Linked DNA regions of Homo sapiens: all the other regions are linked to region 3. The links are contacts of gene promoters, found by promoter capture Hi-C in blood cells and fetal thymus (Javierre and others, 2016). All regions are on one chromosome and are shown on one strand. Each heading gives the region's core, a stretch centred on a gene start or on the middle of the fragment in contact. The rest is flanking DNA. Distances are from core to core; before and after follow the strand shown.

Region 1 (3,278 bases), core at 186-2,685, 2.6 Mb before region 3:
AGGCTCATTATGTGAGTAATAAACCTTTTTATACCCTGTTGGTGCATATGTGGTATGCTAAGTCTTGAAATAGGAGCCAAAGTTTGGGTGAGGGTTCATCTCATTTCTGTGGGTGACTGCAACAGCACATAAACTTCAATGGCAGTTTAAATTCCTGCAACCTATCTGCTGTGGTCTGAATGTTTTTGTCCCCCCACAATTCATATGTTAAACTTAATCACCAATGAGATAGCGTTAGGAGGTGGGGCCTTTGGGAGGTGATTAAATCATGAGGACACAAGCCTCATGACTAGGATTACTGCCCTTATAAAAGAGGCTCCAGAGAGCCGCCCTGTCTCTTCCACCACATGAGGACACAGCTAGAAGGCACAATCTATGACCCAGAAAGCAGGGCCCCACTAGACATCCAATCTGCTGGTGTCTTAATCTTGAACTTCTTAGACTCCAGACCTGTGAGAAATAAATTTGCATTCATAAGCTACCCAGTATTTTTCTATAGCAGCCTGAACAAACTAAGATACCATCATTGTAGTGTTTCATTATTCTTATCACCAAGTGCCCAATCTTCCTCTTGATGACTACAGCCAGAAACCTGGAATATATCTTCAATTCTTTCTTCTTCTTCTTACTCCTCCTTTTTTTTTTTTTTTTGAAAGGGTCTTGCTCTGTCATCCAGCTGGAATGCAGTGGCACAATCACAGCTCACTGCAGCCTCCACCTCCCAGGCTCCAGTGATCCTCCTACCTCAGCCTCCCACATTGCTGGGGTTACACGTATAAGCCACCGTGACTGGCTTCTTTCCTCCTTTTTTGTTGGCCATGTGCCTTTAAAATCCTTTCTGCCAATTTCATGGGTACCATCTCGGCTCAGGCAGTCATTAATTCCTCATTTTAGTTATTTTATGTCTTCTATCTGGTTTGTTTGTTTTTCTAGTCTTGGCCCCGTCTCTCCTACCCAATAATCCTTCCTCTATACTGCTGCTGAAGTAATTCTTCTCCAACCTTGCTTAACTAATTCAGCAATTTCCCATTACCTTCAGGATACAGTTCAAACTCCTTAACACAGTTTACAAAACTCTTCATCATCTTACATCTACATTTCCCATTTCTCCTGCTGCATACCTGCATACCACAATGTTTGCTTCTATGGTATGCTTACCTGCAAAATATACTTACCTCCACAGTTCATAGACAAGGAAATATATACAAAGGTATATGTTCCTTTTTCTGGAGCATACTCATGTCTTTCCTTAGCTTGGTCAATTCCAATAGATTCTTCAGGACTAATCCTGAGCTTTGATACATTCTATGAGAAGTACTTCCTGTTTAACCTAGGCTGAGTGAGGTGTTCTTTCTCCACCTTTTAGCAATAACCTTTATTTCAGTGTTTATTATCACTGTAATATCTGATTTGATTGTATATTTTTCTAGATGTGATTCTCTTAAGGGCAGGCACCATGTTTTTCATCTCAGAAGGTCACAAACTATTAGGAAAATGGGCTTGCAGATACATGTACAACAAAGAATAATAATTGAAGATGGCTCATGGAAAAAGTATTCTGAAAAGTAAGAGAGGCACATGTTCTAGAGAGACAAGAAAAGGCACAATAGAGAAATTAGAGCCCTCATACATTGCTGGTGAGAAAGTAAAATGGTACAGCCACTTTGGAAAACAGTGTGGTAGTTCCACAAGGGGTTAAACATAGAGTTACCATATGACCCCGCAATTCCACTCTTAGGTATATATCCAAGAGAAATGAGAACATATGTTGACACGAAAACTTGTACATGAATGTCAACAGGAGCATTATTCATAATATTCAAAAAGCTGAAACAACCCAACCGATGAAGGGACTTTGAAAACATGTTAAGTGAAAGAAGCCAGTCACAAAAGACCACACATTGCATGATTCCATTTATATGAAATGTTCAAGATAGACAAATGCATACAGACGGAAAGTGGATTACTGGTTGCCTAGGGCTGGGGAGAGGAGGGAGAAGTTGGGGCCAAAGGGTATGGGGTTTCTTTTTGGGGCTGTGAAAATACTCTAAAATCGAATGTGGTAAAGCATGCATAACTCTGTGAATATACTAAAATCACTGAATTGTTTATAAAGAAAAAGATTACTGTGGGGAAGGAAGAAAGATTTCATGGAGTTGGTAGGATTTGAATTCACTGATAAATAAGTGATATAAAAAGCAAAGTGATGTGCTATAGTGAATAAACAAGCCCTTCTGTTGGGCAGATCTGGCTTTAAATCCACTTGGTCAATTTACACTTCCTAAATCTGTAACCTCATCTAAAGTGTAAATATATTAATATACCTACTTTGTAAAATTATTGTGGTAAGTTATATATGGGATTTAAAATATTTAATCTAATGCCAGGCACATAGCAAATATTAATAATAAATATTAGTTACTTATTATAAATCTGTTTAGTATGGAATACAGTTTAGTATTGAATATCGGGACAGAGTGAACATGTAAGTACATCAATGGGAAGGAACTCCCAGAAACTAATCTGGTTTCCAGCAGAAAGAGATATGAGAGACAAAATAATATAAAGGTAACCTTACTAAGTTTAAGAAATATTTATGAATACCTTTTTTCTAACTACTAGACACTTTGCTAGACTGCTGGATACACAAAGACAAATGAGAAGTGAGTAGATTGCTGGATATACAAGTGAGAAGTGGTCCTTGACTTGGTAGTCTAGTAGACAGATAAAAAAATATGTGTAAGAAAGCATTACATTTCTTACAATAGAAATGTTTTTTGTATGCATAAAGAAGGGGGTGGGCTGGAAAAAGAATGTAGTCAAGGTGACTTGCTCAATACTGAAACTGCTCATTAACTACTTAGGCCAGCACTTATGGCAGACTTGTCAGGATGCCTTGCTAATATTTTCCACTTCCAGTACAGAACAGAGATTACAGGTTTAAGCCAATTTTGTTCAACAGATGAGAAACCCAGTGTCCAAGGATGAAAGAATACTTGTTATACAAGGAATGTGAATATTCCAGAGATTTATGCTCAAAGTCCCCAGGTTAGTGTCTTTCTTTCTCACTAGACTGTAAGCTTCTTGAAGACAAATATCTTGAGTGTTACCTTGCTCACTCTTGAATTGTCAAAACTTGGCCCAGGACTAGGTATGTGGTATACAATCAATAAAAATTTGTTGAATGAATGTTCTTCAAAATCCTTCCATGGCAAAAACAGAAGAAACATTCACGAGTGGACTGCTAGTTGACTGTTTCTCTCATCGCTATTGACAGT
Region 2 (3,041 bases), core at 386-2,885, 2.0 Mb after region 3:
TTTTCTTGAAACCTACATCTAAAGTCCTAAAGATCCTCCCACTCTGCCCATCCTTACCTGCAAGGCAGTTGCTCCCCTTTCATTCCAAACTAATTTCTTTCAGGAAGCTCCTCTGCATTAGGTAGGGCGAAGGAAGGATGCTTTTACTGTCCAGGTTCATCATGCCCCTAAAATGTATTAAAATGTAAAATCAATAATGCTTACCCTTCCCACACAAAAAAATGGAAAGACCATTAAGTTCTATTAAAATTTATAGAAATTTATGTGAGCTAAGTGTCTTGAAACCTAGTCTGTGTCCCTTGATTGAAGTGGCTTTAATGCTTTTTGAGCTGATGGTCATATTAACATCCAAAAATTTTTTATAAGAGATTAGCTTATTTTAAGATGCTGATTGTAGGAGGATAATTAGACAAAGAAACATGTTACTAGATATGCATTTCCTTTCTATATTAGAGTTTAGAGAAGGATACCCCAAGTTTCTTTCTTTCTTTCTTTTAGGCTGCTGTTGTAGCCAGTGGAATAACCTGGAGGTCTCAGCATTGCCTTAACTTTATGCACCTGGTCCCATACCATATGGCTGGATAATGTTTTGAGATATTTATGGGTTTAAAAATCTTTCATTTTCCAGGCCGGGTGCGGTGGCTCACGCCTGTAATCCCAGCACTTTGGGAGGCCGAGGTGGGCAGATCACGAGGTCAGGAGTTCGAGACCAGCCTGGCCAACATAGTGAAAACCCGTCTCTTCCAAAAATACAAAAATTAGCCAGGTGTGGTGGCACACGCCTGTAGTCCCATCTACTCAGGAGGCTGAGGCGGGAGAGTCGCTTGAACCCGGAAGGCAGAGGTTGCAGTGAGCTGAGACCACGCCATTGCACTCCAGCCTGGGTGACAGAGTGAGACTCCGTCTCAAAAAAACAAAGAAATAAAAAATCTTTCATTTTCCTCTCTTCATTTTAACTGTCCATTTGTAGCAAGTTCTGTGTGTCAGTGCCTTGGGGAAAGTACAAGTCGGGGAGGAATACAGAGTCATCCTGGAACTCTTTGTAACTTTTGTTTCCAAAAGTCAAAAGCCTAAGATAGGATGAAGTTTAAGGAAATAAGCTTAGAGAAGAGAAAGAGGTAGGATTCTCCAGCTTAAAGAGAGTGCCCCTGCCCCAAACCTGGGCAAGGGAGCCCTGGCTATGGCCCTGGTTTGCCAGAGGAGCTGTGCATTGCTCCCTGGCCTCAAAGGGACGACCTCCTGCTACACTTCCAGCCTGGGGCTCCTGGCTTTGCCTAAGGTTCCTCTGCTTCATTTGAGGCAGGAGAGCCCCTGAGTGCCAGCTGGAGGTCTCAGAGAACCACTGAAGGCTTGGCCAACAAGGATGGCTAGAATGATCAGAACCAATTGGAAATTAGAGATATTATTTCCTGGGGCACGTTGATCAAATTTTGGTAAAACCCTAGAAGCGGGAAGGAGGCTAATAATGATGGAGAAACAATTTCCTACCATTCTAGTGGGTTAAGGACATAGATGTTTGCTTATTCATTTAACAGATATTTATTAGAATTATTTGATCAGTCAGGCACTGTTCTAATGGCTTAGGATATATTCATGGATGAAAGAAAGATTCCTGTCCTCATGGAGATAATATTATTCTATGAAGTTATTTTTCTCTGAGCAGTTTTATTCTTCACTTCCTCTTTCTTCATTTCCTCTTTCTGATTGGGCTCCTTTTCCACGCCCAATTTTTGGAGCAGAGAGAGAGTGACTCCTAGGTAGCTGTTGAAGAACATGCAGATTAGGAGGGGGCTGTGGGAGAGAAACATTTGTTGAGAATATGACCAAGGGAAAGACATCCCTTGTAGGAGGGTGGTGATTGAGGTGTAGAGTAGAATTCAAACAGCTTTTCCCCTTTCAATATGTAATTGTGTCTCCCTTCACTCCTGCTGCAGTGAATTTTTCTCCTCGCAGAACCCTTTCCCCAACATCCACCCCTTCTGCTCTGAGCTTGGTGATAGCCGCCGCAGTCCCCTACCAGCATGTTCTTTCCCAGGCCATGTTGTCGGGACTGTAATTCAGCCATGACTGGCAAGCAACGAATCCGCCTGGCTGTTTGCTAATGTGATGAGAAAAGCAGGCTTCCCTCTTAGAAAGAGGATCTTGGAGACACTATTGTGATTGCATCTGAAAAGCTTAGATCAAATGGATAATGTCTTCAGTGAAGATCATTTTGGAATTTTCCTATTTATCAAGTTACCTTAGTAATTTTCTGGTCTCTCTGACAGAGTAGAAGTGAATCAATCAACTCATCATTGTCCCTCCATCAAGGCCAAGTGAATTTATATCTCCATTGGAGAAGAAACAAAACAATAAGCAATCATTCTATGTTTTGTAGAGCAATTCTATTTTGATTAAAACTATTTTTGTCTTTTTTTCTCAGTGTCTTCAATACGGACTTTATGTTTTTCTGTTATAAGCACTGACTGGTTAGTTACCAAAATGAGAAATAAGTCTGGAAACATCTCACTCATTAATGTTCTGTAACATCATAAGGGGAACAAATACCTTGTATTTACATAATGTTTGCAGAAAAGTCAAATATTACTTCCTTCATCCTCACAACCATAACAAAATGTGCTTCTGAGTCGTGGTCCAAAGACCATGGGACTAGGAGTCACAGACATGAGTAGCTATCTCAGCTTAACCTTGACTACCTGTTCCTCCTTAGATAAGTCATTTAACACACTAGCCTTGGTGTCCTCATTTTAGAAGTAAATGGGCTGGGCTTGGCGCGGTGGCTCATGCCTGTAATCCCAGCATTTTGGGAGGCCGAGGCAGGCAAATCACGACGTGGTCAGGAGATCGAGACCATCCTGGCTAACACGGTGAAACCCTGTCTCTACTAACAATACAAAAAATTAGCCAGGCATGGTGGCCGGCACCTGTAGTCCCAGCTACTTGGGAGGCTGAGGCAGGAGAATCACTTGAACCTGGGAGGCAGAGATTGCAGCAAGCTGAGATCTCGCCACTGCACTCCAGCCTGAGCGACAGAGCAAGAC
Region 3 (3,143 bases), core at 1-2,500:
TAAACTCTTTTCCACAGAAGTGAGCTCGAAACCCAATGATGCTTGAGATACTTGTACTTCCATCCTACTTTTAAAGTAATTAGTGCCGCTAGCCAATAAGGATAGCCTTTACATAGGCAAAATCTCCCAATACGGAGGATGTTTCCAGAAATTCGATTTTCCACATAGGGAGGAAGAACTGCAACGGCTTCAGAGCTCCTTTCTTCTCATGAGGGCAGATCACATTCTAAATAATTCCCATGGCCACGTGATGACACCAAAAGAATAAGCTTTCCACACCGGGACCTAAGGCTGAGCCACTCAAACCTCTTTACATGATCCCTCACCACCAGCCCTAACCTCAATCCTGAACGTTTGGAAGAAAATCCAAACTCACAACATTCTTTTATAGCTCTAAGTGAACCAGCAGCTTCTTGAACAAGAATGCTAACTTCCCCGATTGCTCTGGGGCCTACAAGGCAATCCATCACTACTGGACATTTGCAGACAGGTACTCTCTCAACCTGCAGGAACCCCGCGTTTATTCTCAGTTGTTTGGTTTAGACTAGCCCAAAACCGCTTACACCCAACCAGTTTAAGAGCTCATTCTAGCGAGCCCTTCCCGTGCCCTAATCAGTGGCCCTTGCGCACTTACGTATCCGTCTCTCGACCTCCAAGCACCCGAGGTATCCCTTTCTCCCCCCTTAGGAGCATCCCCAAACCAAGGACAGAACAGGCCCCATGCACGCCAGCGCGCACCCCCTCAAGTCTCCGGGGGAGCCTGAGCGAAGAGCACCTCTCCCGAGCGGCCACGGAGAGCCCTGCAGGCACCGACCCCCACCCTTCCCACAGCCGCCCCGGGTACGCAGAAGCCGCTTCTGCAAGGCCCCGGGGGAGGCTGACCTGCGGAAAACGCACCGACCGCGGCCCTCGGGAGCCCCGCCCCGCCCCGGGGATGCCAAGCCGCCCCTCCACCTCGCAGCGGCGCCGGCCGCCCAGACCTGCCCACCCTCGCCGGGTCAGCCGCCTCCCTCCGCCGCGCCGACCGAGGCCGCCGCAGCCCGACTTCACCTCCCCAGGCAGCCGAGGCCGCCGCTGCCGCAGCCCGGGCCCGCCTTCCAAAGCCTGGGGGAGGCAGGAGCGCTGCGGAGGTGGACCGGCGCCACCCCGCACTCGCGTCTCCTCCTCCTGTCTCCTCCCTCTCCCCTCCCGGTCCTCGCCCGCGGCCTCTGCGGCGCCAGAGACCCAGCCGACTCAGCCGCTCGCGCCCAGGCCCGCCCACCGCGCCGCGCGTGGCTTTTGTAGGCCGCGCCCCGCCCCGGCCCGCTCCGCCCTCGGCCGCCCCGCCACCGCCTCCTTCCGGTGCTCCTTCCCGGCTGCAGCTGGCCGCCAGCGCTTGTCGGGTGTTAGTTCCGGGCCCAGCTTGGGCTGGTGGTAGGTCGGGAGAGGGCGCGGTCTCCCAGCCTTTGCGCAGATTGCGGGGCACCAGGTGGGGCCGAGGCGACGCCGAACGCCGGCAGGCCGGAAACCGCGCAGCCCCGCTGGACCTCGCTGATTGCCGGCGGCACCGGTGGTTTCGCGACCTTGAACAGGTGACTCCAATAGCTCCAGGAGGGCAGCGAGCCCTTCGCGGAACTACCAGATAAGCCATGCTTGAGGCTGTCGTAGCCTAGTGGGTAGTCGTGAAATGCAGATGCGCCTTTGCCCCTCAGATAGCATCTTTCATAGTAGGATGGGGAAAAAACACCGTTTCCTTACCGGGGAATCAGCCTGTAAGAGCAGAATGCCCCAAATCAGCATCGCCATAAAAACGGAGTAGGTGACTTCGCAACCTGCAATAATAGGATTGAGTTTATTCAAGCCGTATTATTTGTTCATGTGACACACATTAATTGACTGGCACGCAGAGAAAGCTGTAAAAAATCTTTGTAAGGTTACATAAAATTAAGAGAAAAGTCTGGAAATATGTAAAAGTTTATTGAGGAAAGGAAGGTGTTTCTGATACCAAATAAGAAACACACACACACACTCAGCAATACTTTGCCCCAACATGTGTTTACTTATTACACCAAGTGGAGTTTTTTAGGTCCTGATTGTCCCTGACGCTCTGATAAAAAATATTGAGACTAGCAAAAGAACAGAAAATTCAGAAGAAGAATCAAGGAAACAAAGGTCTAGTTTTAAAAGCCTTGGTCAACTTCACACAAATTAATTTTAACATTACTTAATACATTTTTTTGGCATCTATTATCCGTGTTCTTTTCGGTCCCTGGTGACATAATGTACCCTAATGTTGCATTTTAACTTTGAATCTCTGAATCCCATATGTGTTCTTCAGGGTCAGAGAAATACTAGATTTTCCCTTTTTCTCATTGTTTATAAACAGAGAAACGCAGAAGATGCTGAACATGAGGAGAGGAAGGCTATGCCTTCACCTTTGGTAACACAAAAAACAGTGGCCATAAGAAAAAATGTGAAGGACACACTGTTGGATCAATGAGTTGACACAAAGTTACAGCACAGCCTGAGTTGTAGTCCGAGCTAATGATGAACCTAAAAATGGTATTTCAGTCAGATTAATCATGAAATGTTTGCCCCCTGCCGGCGCAGTGGCTCAAGCCTGTGATCCCAGCACTTTGGGAGGCCGAGGCGGGGTGGATCACCTGAGGTCGGGAGTTCGAGGCCAGGCTGGCCAGCGTGGTGAATATCCATCTCTACTAAAAATACAAAAATTAGCCGAGCATGGCGGCATGTGCCTGTAATCATGGCTACTCAGAGGCTAAGGCAGGAGAATCGCTTGAAACCCGGAGACGGACGCTGCAGTGAGCCGAGATTGTGCCGCTGCACTCCAGCCTGGGTGACAGAGCAAGACTCTATCTCAAAAAAAGAAAGAAAGAAAGAAATGTTTGCCTTCTAATCGGTCAGGCAAAAAGGAGGCCGTAAATTTTAAATTTTCTACTAAATGGATATTCTTCTAAATGAATAAATCCATACAGATTTACTTCTCAGGAAGGATTATAAAAATGCATCACGAAAGAATGCAAAAGCAAAAATAATTGAATTTCAAGTCCAGTAGGGTACAGTCTGTATACGTATGGCGTGACATTTGTAGGAGAACATACCACAGTAGATACTCTTGAAGCAATGTCTTCTGAACAAGTTAA

The links. The method cuts DNA at HindIII sites, captures the fragments that hold promoters and counts their contacts. A CHiCAGO score of 5 or more calls a contact.
Region 1: a contact is called between a fragment that was not itself captured here and the fragment with the promoter of CAPRIN2 in region 3, in 2 of 17 cell types (naive B cells and naive CD4 T cells). The highest score is 5.3, in naive B cells.
Region 2: a contact is called between a fragment that was not itself captured here and the fragment with the promoter of CAPRIN2 in region 3, in 1 of 17 cell types (total B cells). The highest score is 5.5, in total B cells.

Annotation. Positions count from the first base shown.
Region 1 is chr12:28,186,433-28,189,710 of GRCh38, forward strand. It overlaps LOC729291 (a long non-coding RNA gene), which reads right to left. Exons shown (of 1, transcript NR_148936.1): 1 at 1-3,278. Among named protein-coding and RNA genes, the nearest start is that of CCDC91, 2.4 kb to the right of the region's middle. The HindIII fragment of the contact is 3,286 bases long and covers 1-3,078 here.
Region 2 is chr12:32,760,200-32,763,240 of GRCh38, forward strand. No RefSeq gene overlaps it. Among named protein-coding and RNA genes, the nearest start is that of YARS2, 5.8 kb to the left of the region's middle. The HindIII fragment of the contact is 1,074 bases long and covers 1,099-2,172 here.
Region 3 is chr12:30,753,701-30,756,843 of GRCh38, forward strand. It overlaps CAPRIN2 (caprin family member 2), which reads right to left and starts at 1,251. Exons shown (of 19, transcript NM_001385503.1): 1 at 1,051-1,251. LOC645485 (a long non-coding RNA gene) reads left to right here and starts at 1,374. Exons shown (of 2, transcript NR_135046.1): 1 at 1,374-1,571. RefSeq lists enhancers at 625-704, 708-877 and silencers at 805-1,484, 2,576-2,779. The HindIII fragment of the contact is 2,894 bases long and covers 268-3,143 here.